3 separate regions of the Homo sapiens genome follow, and regions 1 and 2 are each linked to region 3. Evidence: promoter capture Hi-C in human tissues and cell types (Jung and others, 2019). All regions are on one chromosome and are shown on one strand. The core of a region is centred on a gene start or on the middle of the fragment in contact, and the rest is flanking DNA. Distances in the headings are between cores, read along the strand shown. Region 1 overlaps LINC01517 (long intergenic non-protein coding RNA 1517). Region 2 has its middle 49 kb from the start of C10orf126. Region 3 holds the start of C10orf126 (chromosome 10 open reading frame 126).

Evidence for each region. Contacts are between HindIII fragments. The study calls those that stand out against the background at their distance.
Region 1: a fragment that was not itself captured here is called in contact with the fragment with the promoter of C10orf126 in region 3 in 1 of the 25 tissues and cell types used here (bladder).
Region 2: a contact is called between a fragment that was not itself captured here and the fragment with the promoter of C10orf126 in region 3, in 2 of the 25 tissues and cell types used here (IMR-90 fibroblasts and fat).

Annotation. Positions count from the first base shown.
Region 1 is chr10:28,791,405-28,794,120 of GRCh38, forward strand. The region is part of intron 2 of LINC01517 (long intergenic non-protein coding RNA 1517); the gene reads left to right. LINC00837 (long intergenic non-protein coding RNA 837) reads right to left here. Exons shown (of 2, transcript NR_038376.1): 2 at 1-1,540. Among named protein-coding and RNA genes, the nearest start is that of LINC00837, 3.3 kb to the right of the region's middle. The HindIII fragment of the contact is 7,810 bases long and covers 1-2,716 here.
Region 2 is chr10:28,893,982-28,896,757 of GRCh38, forward strand. No RefSeq gene overlaps it. Among named protein-coding and RNA genes, the nearest start is that of C10orf126, 49 kb to the left of the region's middle. The HindIII fragment of the contact is 3,266 bases long and covers 1-2,776 here.
Region 3 is chr10:28,844,823-28,847,993 of GRCh38, forward strand. C10orf126 (chromosome 10 open reading frame 126) reads left to right here and starts at 1,586. Exons shown (of 5, transcript NR_164114.1): 1 at 1,586-1,641; 2 at 2,297-2,441. The HindIII fragment of the contact is 9,674 bases long and covers 1-3,171 here.

The sequences.
Region 1 (2,716 bases), core at 175-2,674, 54 kb before region 3:
CAGCAGTAAGTAGTGATGTACAGAATCCTGGGACCAGTGCCAGTGACCCTAGGGATACTATGGGTGAGCTGGGCGTGCACCGCTGTGATGGCCTCTCTGGTCAGGAGACGACACGCAGTGAGAAGGAGGGAAGGGCTGGCCCAAAGGGCTTCAGTCTAAGGTGAGGCCCACAGAAAGGCCTGCGCCAAGATGCAGCCAGCAGCCCACACCAGTGGTAGCTACCTGTTATCCATGCTGGGGCCAGTCCTTGATTGCTCCAAACACTCTGCTTGAAGGTTCTAATGGAAATGAGCAGGTCTTCCGATCAGGACCTAACCTAGGCGAGCTTCTGAAAAAAGCATGAAAAAGCAGCCTCCTGAACTTCCCCAAGTGACTGATGTGAAGCACATCCTGCACGCTTCACAGCATGGAGATCTTCCAGTGCACACCACGGACGATGTGAATGACAGCATGGACCATCAGCAACCCACAGAGCTGCCCGACCAAGAAGTTGTAAATCAGACGCCACACACACACAAAAAAGACAAGATGGCCTCAAGTCCCCAATATTCGAACTGGAGTAGGCGAGTGGCTTCCCTGGTGGCTCACGCTCTGCTGAGCACCCTTCATCTGCACCAGGAAAGACGACATGGAAAATGAGGACTTGGCAGTGGAGGGGAACAGGGAAGCAGAACAGGGTGGTCCCCCAGCATCGTGGCCGCAAGTCCCTCTGAAAGCATGGATGACAATGGTAATTTAGGTGCTTCCTTCGAATGTCCCGAGGGAAAGACTGGTAAAGCAGACATACGATTGTGAGAAGAAACCCAAAGGAGTACAGAACTCACAGCACAAGCCCAAGGTCTGCTCAGCGAGCAGGTCTCTCTGCAGGGTTCAAGGGCACAGCTGGAGAGGGACATCCCGAAGCTGCAGCCAGTGGTTTCCGATCTGCCTGAACTGCCCTGAAAACACATGAAGCAGCCTCAGGGGGAGTCCATGGAGAAGGATGTCTACTGCTTGCACCTCAGAGACTTCGTAAAGTGCAGGAAAATGGGAACTGCTCGTCATACCAGCAAGCTTTAAGAAAAGATGTGTCCCCAGACTTGGCCCAGGAATTGAAGGATGACACAGTTTTCAGAGGGAGATCCTCTTCTATGAGAAAACAGCCCAGGACGGCTGGATGACAGCCACGTCCACTGAGATAGCAAGACCTCTGGAAAGAAGATGACCATAATAGGCAGAAGCCAGCTGATTGCGAGGCCAAGTTCCACCCTTTCCTGAGCGGCCCTTTGGCTCCTGGGGATCCACCTGCAGCCCACAGGGGCCTGGAAGTGCCGGGGGACCATGGTCCTGAACACCCAGAGACTTGGCAGAACATCAGCTGATGCTGCTCCCTTTAAAACACTTTTGACTGCTCTCTGGTTTGGCTACTGTTCGTTAGTTGATGCTGAAACTGTTCTTACTGAAGTTTGATTGATAGCCTTAGACGGTAAGGTACAAATAAAGATGGTGTAATATAAAAAAAAATTTTTTTAAGTGAAAGGAACCTTGTGGTGCAGGAAACCTGAAAAACAAAACAAACAAAAAAACTGAATCTTTAGCGGGTTCACCAAGAAGTGAAAATCACATACAAACCTATCGCCCAGAGGCAACCATGATTGCCTTTTGTTTTTTACCAATTTAAAAATTTCTATTCTTATTAGATGTATACAGTTTTATATTGATGTGATTCTACCATATGGGTTGCTTAATAGCCTGCTTTTGGTCACTTTAATTAATGTTAATTTGTTATTATTAATGCTGTGAATATCTTTGCATTCAATGAGTATGTTATTTTCAGAGGCTGTACAGTATTCCATCTAGTTCAAAAAGTCCTATAATTTATTTAACCGATCCCCAATTTATGGACATTTGTTTCCAGTGAAATATAAACAACACTCCATTAAAAGTGTAGAGCACTTTTTAGTATATTCATTTGGTTATTTCTGTAGAATTTATTCCTAGAAGTGAAATTGCTGAATTACAGAGCATACATATCTAAATACGTATATATGTTTTATATCGATTACAAATATATGTATTACTATTTTAATGTAAATGATTTTATATGTATTTAAAATGCCAATGTGAATGTATTACTATTTTAATGCAAATGATTTTATATGTATTTAAAATGCCAATGTGATTGTTAGTTTTATGGGTCAACTTAACTGGGTTAAAGGATACCCAGACAGCTGGTAAAAGATTATTTCTGGGTGTGTCCGCAGGGCGTTTCAGGAAGAGATTAGCATTTGAATCAGGAGACTGAGTGAGGAAGATTTGCCTTCCCCAGTGTAGATGGCCATCATCCAACCACTTTAGGGCCCTGATACAACAAAAAGGCCGAGGAAGGGCAAATTTGCTCTCTCTTCTGCAGCTGGAACATCCATCTTTTTCCCCCATCTTCAGACATCAGAACTCTAGATTTTCTGGCCTTCAGACTCCAGACTTGCTCCAGCACCCTCTGAGCCCCATTCTCCTCTCATTCCCAGGCCTTCTGCTTCAAATTGAGGCTGACAACATTGACTCTCCTGGTTCTCAGACCTCTGGATATGAGACCTCTGGCGCAACTCACCCCTGGCTTGCACCAAACATTCTTAAAATGTTTATTGGGGTCAGGTGCAATGGCTCGCACCTGCAATCCCAGCGCTTTGGGAGGCCAAGGCAGGAGGACTGCTTGAGGCCAGGAGTTCAAGACCAG
Region 2 (2,776 bases), core at 133-2,632, 49 kb after region 3:
CCACCATTACAGAAAGTTCACTTTAAACCTACATATGAATGAAAATCTAATGTATTAATCAGTAACACATTAATCTTGTGTATAAATCTACTCACAACCCAAACATATCATGTTCTTTGATCTCCATCACTTTTTAAAATCAAAGGTAAAAATCACTTCAGGGAATGAGTTAAACTCATTGCCTGCTTCTGAGCAGTAGGGTAACACCTCACTCTGAATAATCCTCCATACAGAATTCTCTCTGGAAAAATGATTATTTCCTTCTCATATGTGAGTCTTAAAAGACGCAGGCATTCGGGCTATTTCCACATATTTCACTTGACTCCTGCATTCACAATTCCTTGCTGGCCTCTGGGTAGGAAAGAGATTCTGTGAACTATGGACTGGGTTGCCCCTGCTCAGAAGGAAAGTCACCCAGCCCTCGCGAGCCTGAGAACCTTTGGCTGCCTGCTGCCTTAAGATGACAGCAACAAACTCTTCCAAAGGGAGAGCTGAAGATCATCACTGCTGCTCGAGTGAGCTGCTTGCCTGAGGAAAGAGTTGAGGGGCTGGGGGAATCATTGGCCCTCGTCTTGGCCAAGGTTTGGCTTTCCGCACAGTGATGTGTGACTTTTTTTTTTTTTTTTTTTTTTTTTTTTTTGAGACAGGGTCTCATTCTGTTGCCCAGGCTGGAGTGCAGCCCACCTCAGCCTCCTGAGTAGCTGGGACTACAGGTGCACCTCCTCATACCTGGCTAATTTTTTTTTATTTTTTGTAGAGACAGGGCTTCGCCACGTTGCCCAGGCTGGTCTCAACCTCCTGAACTCAAGTGATCCTCTCATACCTGCCTCCCAAAGTGTTGCGATATAGATGTGAGCCACCCTGCCCAGCCAACATGTGACATATGGAGAGCTGGTAAAGGAAAGATGGGACCTGGAGAATCTCTTTCTGATCTGATTTGAGAATCATTTTTATATTAGGTAGGGTAAAAGGCTGAGCTGCCATAACACAGTCTCAACAGTATAGAAGTTTAAAAGATGAAGAAGTTTCTTTTGTATAACCATCCAAAATAAATGTTCCAGGTGCAGCCTGTTCTGTTCCACCACTATTTAAGGACACAGGTTTCTTTTGAGTCGTTGCTCTGTCCTCCCCTGCCCCGTTCTCTGGGAGAATTGTCTTCTGCATGGCTGAAGCTGATTATAGAGGCATGTCTGAGTTTCCATTGTGAGAAGGGGAAAGAGCATGGACGAGACATGCCCACTCCCTGAAGGCCTGGGTTCCTCATTGCTTGCTCATGATCCACTGGACTGGACGCCATACCTAATTGCAAAAGTCGCTGGAAAATGTAGTCTAGACTGTGCTCAGGAAGAAATGGAAAATGAATTTCAGTGAACTAACGGCACTCTCCACTATACCTTCCTTTCCTTTTCTAGTTTTTTTTTTTTTGGGGGGGGCGGGGGGATTTCTCTCTTGTTGCAGGGCAATGGCATGCCTTGTTGCCAGGCTGCAGAGCAATGGCATGGTCTCGGCTCACTGCAACCTCTGCCTCCTGGGTTTCAGCCATCCTCCTGTCTCAGCCTCCCAAGTAGCTGGGATTACAGTCACCTGCCACCACGCCCATCTAATTTTTGTATTTTTAATAGAGACGGGGTTTTACCGTGTTGTCCAGGCTGGTCTTGAACTCCTGACCTCAGGTGATCTGCCCACCTCGACCTCCCAAAGTGCCTTTTCTCAGTTCTCAATATTTTTTTTCTTTTCAAACGCTATGACTCCATATCCATCAAGATAGTGTGTCCGGAATTGGTGGGTTCTTGGTCTCACTGACTTCAAGAATGAAGCCGCGGACCCTCAAGATGAGTGTTACAGTTCTTAAAGGCGGCGTGTCCGGAGTTTGTTCCTTCTGGTGTTTGGACGTGTTCAGAGTTTCTTCCTTCTGAGGGGGTTCGTGGTATCTCTGGCTCAGGAGTGAAGCTGCGGACCTTCGCGGTGAGTGTTACAGCTCTTAAGGTGGCGTGTCTGGAGTTGTTCATTCCTCCCCGTGGGTTTGTGGTCTCGTTGGCTTCAGGAGTGAAGCTGCAGACCTTCCCAGTGAGTGTCACAGCTCATAAAGGCAGTGTGGACCCAAAGAGTGAGCAGCTGCAAGATTTATTGCAAACAGCGAAAGAACAAAGCTTCCACGGTGTGGAAGGGGACCCGAGCGAGTTGCCAGTGCCGGCTCAGGCAGCCTGCTTTTATTCTCTTATCTGGCCCCACCCACATCCTGCTGATTGGTAGAGCTGAGTGGTCTGTTTTGACAGGGCGCTGACTGGTGCGTTTACAATCCCTGAGGAAGACACAAAGGTTCTCCACCTCCCCACCAGATTAGCTAGACACAGAGTGTCCACATAAAGGTTCTCCACCTCCCCACCAGATTAGCTAGACACAGAGTGTCCACACAAAGGTTCTCCAAGGCCCCACCATAGTAGCTAGAGTGTCCATTGGTGCATTCACAAACCCTGAGCTAGACACAGGGTGCTGATTGGTGTGTTTACAAACCTTGAGCTAGATACAGAGTGCCCATTGGTGTAATTACAATCCCTGAGCTAGACACAAGGGTTCTCCAAGGCCCCACCAGAGTAGCTAGATACGGAGTGTGGATTGGTGCATTCACAAACCCTGAGCTAGACACAGGGTGCTGATTGGTGTGTTTACAAACCTTGAGCTAGATACAGAGTGCCGATTGGTGTATTTACAATCCCTGAGCTAGACACAAAGGTTCTCCACGTCCCCACCAGACTCAGGAGCCCAGCTGGCTTCA
Region 3 (3,171 bases), core at 336-2,835:
GACAGAGATGAAAACAACAGCAACGACTGAGCCCCAGAGTAATTAGAAGTTAAAAGGGGCTAAGGACTGCAATGAATGTGCATGACAAGATCCATGTATTGCCATCAAAGTGAGTGACTGTTTCTAGGAGGGTAGAGGTCAAGATGCCTGAAGGAGGAGAGAAGTTTAATGACCTATGATGGTGGAGTTTTGGAAAGATTATTATCTATGCATTGAACATGCTCAGAAAAGAGAGGAGAAGTATTGGGGAGGATGCCAATGGGCTGAGAACTGATGTTGTTGAAAAAGGTGGTGAACAATGTTGGGCAGGGGTATTACAGGACCAACATGTTTGTATGCCTGTTGTGCAGAAACAGACCAATACACCAAGACAGCAGGCTTTGCAGCAGAGAGAGGGTTTGATGACAGCAGGGAGGCCGAGTGAGCAGATGGGAGAAGACCCTCAAATCCATCTCCCCGAAGAGTTCTAGGCTGAGGTTTTCAAGGGGATTATGGGGGGTGAGGGGCTGAAAAACTATAGTCATTGATTGGTTGGGGAAAGGGGGATGAAATCATCAGGATGTAGAAACTGCATTCTTCAGTGAGTCAGCTTCTCGTGGGGTCCTTCAGACCAGCTGGCGTCAGTAGTTTCATCAGTATGCATGACCTACAAGAATATCTCAAATGGAAAGCAACATTTCACAATGTTCAGTTGTTATCTGTGGAGCAGTGAAGGGGGACTCTAATCTTGTGACAGGGTCTGTGTGATTCTGGAGCAATAGGTAGCAAAACACTATGAGGAAGGATCAGAGAACAGCTGACCCCATGACTAACACTGAGTATGTGCAAGCTTGGCTTATTTTTGTTTCTCTCCCTCCCTTCTCTTCTGATTAATTGTATAAAGTTTCTAGGGACAGTTTCAGGGGTGATAGATGATGATGGTACGAGATTTGCAGTAGAAGGGAAGGAGAAGGTTCTGGAAGGGGAAAAGAGGACCAGCAGGGTCCCTCCATCACCTCCAGGTCTGCAGGAGGTGGCAGGAGGGCCTGGAATGAAAAACAGCCAGTGGCTGGGCGCAGTGGCTCACGCCTGTAATCCCAGCACTTTGGGGGGCTGAGACGGGCAGATCACGAGGTCAAGAGATTGAGACCATCCTGGTCAACATGGTGAAACCCCGTCTCCACTAAAAATACAAAAATTAGCTGGGTGTGGTGGTGTGTGCCTGTAATCCCAGCTACTTGGGAGGCTGAGGTAGGAGAACCACTTGAACCCGGGAGGTGGAGGTTGCAGTGAGCTGAGACCGCACCACTGCACTCCAGCCTGGCTACAGAGGGAGACTCCATCTCAAAAAAAGAAAAAGAAAAACAGCCAGCGCATGAGAGAAGATGTGAGCATCGTCCTCAGGGAAGAGTCAGTTTTTGTCAGAACAAGGAGGGACTATTTGGAAGTTAGTTTGGGATGTGAGGCGTTTTGCTATTAGTGGATCAGGCTGATGGCACCGTGGAGGGGTTTCAGGAGTCAAGAACAGGTGGGAGAAAGTTTCCCAGTGCAGGTTGTGCAAGCCTCCTGGCCCGGAGAGTGTGGGTGTGACGAGTGGCTTGAGAGACAGGGATGAAGAGCATGAATGCGAATGTACAGCACTGAGCTCGCGTCTGCCACATGGTAAGCTCTTAGAAGACCTCAGCTTCTTATTCATTTTGTCACAAATCGATTAATTACTGAGCTGAAGGACATATTAGAAAACGGTCAATAGCAATACTTCTAACTTCCAATCTGTACTTACGCTTGGCATTCAATCGATGTTATCAAAACCTGTGCCAGCTCCAAGGAAGAGAGAACACTGTTTTCTGATTTAGTTGCTTCCTGAAAGGAGCTGAGAGCTGTAAAACACAGGCAAGATTGGACTTTTCAATAATGCTTATATATTGACTTGCAGAAACAATATTAGAACTTTTTTAAAATGCACACATTATCTCCTTAGGGTAAGGGAAAAGGTTTTACCTTTTTATTTTTGCATCTCCCCTTTGAGTGAACATCATTCTTTTTTCTTTAACTCACAACTTTACAAGGTATTTGGAGAAATATAAGGGAGAGATAGTTTCTGTTTCTCACCTCTTTAAGCAATGTCCTCTTGTATACCAAATAATATCTTCCTGTGGTTAATGATATGAGAAACAGAATGCCTCTCCAGAAACCTTTTCACATCCCAGATTCAGAGTTCCTGAGGCCAGAATCTGATCTGACATATTTTACTACTTAGGTAAATCCTTAATCTCAAGAGTGATGAGAGTGAAGTCTTTTTATGTTTGTTTTTTAGAGATGGGCCTCTTTCTGTCGCCCAGGCTGGAGTGCAATGGTGTGATCATAGCTCACTGCAGCCTCAACCTCCTGAGCTCAAATAGTCCTCCTGCCTCAGCTTCCTGAGTTGCGACTACAGCCATGAACCACTGCATCCAGTTCAGGTTTTTTGTTTGTTTGTTGTTTTCCTTAAAAAACACTAGTGATTCTATTTTGATTCTGACAACTTTCATAAGGTCCAGGGACAAAATAAATGTGTTATCTCTTGGGAGGAGATGGATTTATAAGCCCATGGGCACCATTCAGAGGCCATATGCCCTGGAAGCACTGAGGAATGTGCTCAAAGCAAACCCTTGGGTCATCCTTGACTCTTCTTTTGCTCTCACATCCACATCCAATCTATGAGGAAATTAACTTAGCTCAGGTAGTTTAAAAATCCATCTGAATGTTGCGGCCAGGCATGGTGGCTCATGCCTGGAGTCCCAACTACTCAGGAGGTTGAGGCGGGAGGATTGCTTGAGCGCAGGAGCTCGAGGCTGCAGTGAGCTATGATCATGCCACTGCACTCCAGCCTGGGCAACAGAGCAAGGCTCAGGCTGGTCTTGAACTCCTGGCCTTTAGTGATCCTCTTGCCTTGTCCTCCCAAAGTGTTGGGATTACAGGCACGGGCCACTGAGCCCTGCCTAAAACGTTCAATGTCAGTGACTTGGAAGAATGTTCTGGTGGACGGGAAAGCCCCGGATGGAGAGAGGATTCAGGCATTTGAGAGGTCAGAGAGAAGCAAGGTATCCAAGGACAATGGAATTGGCTGCTTGTTGCTCAATTGAATTGAGGCTCTACATTAGGATAATGAAAAGCTGTAGGCAGTTAGGGAGCAATTGAAAGCCACTTGTG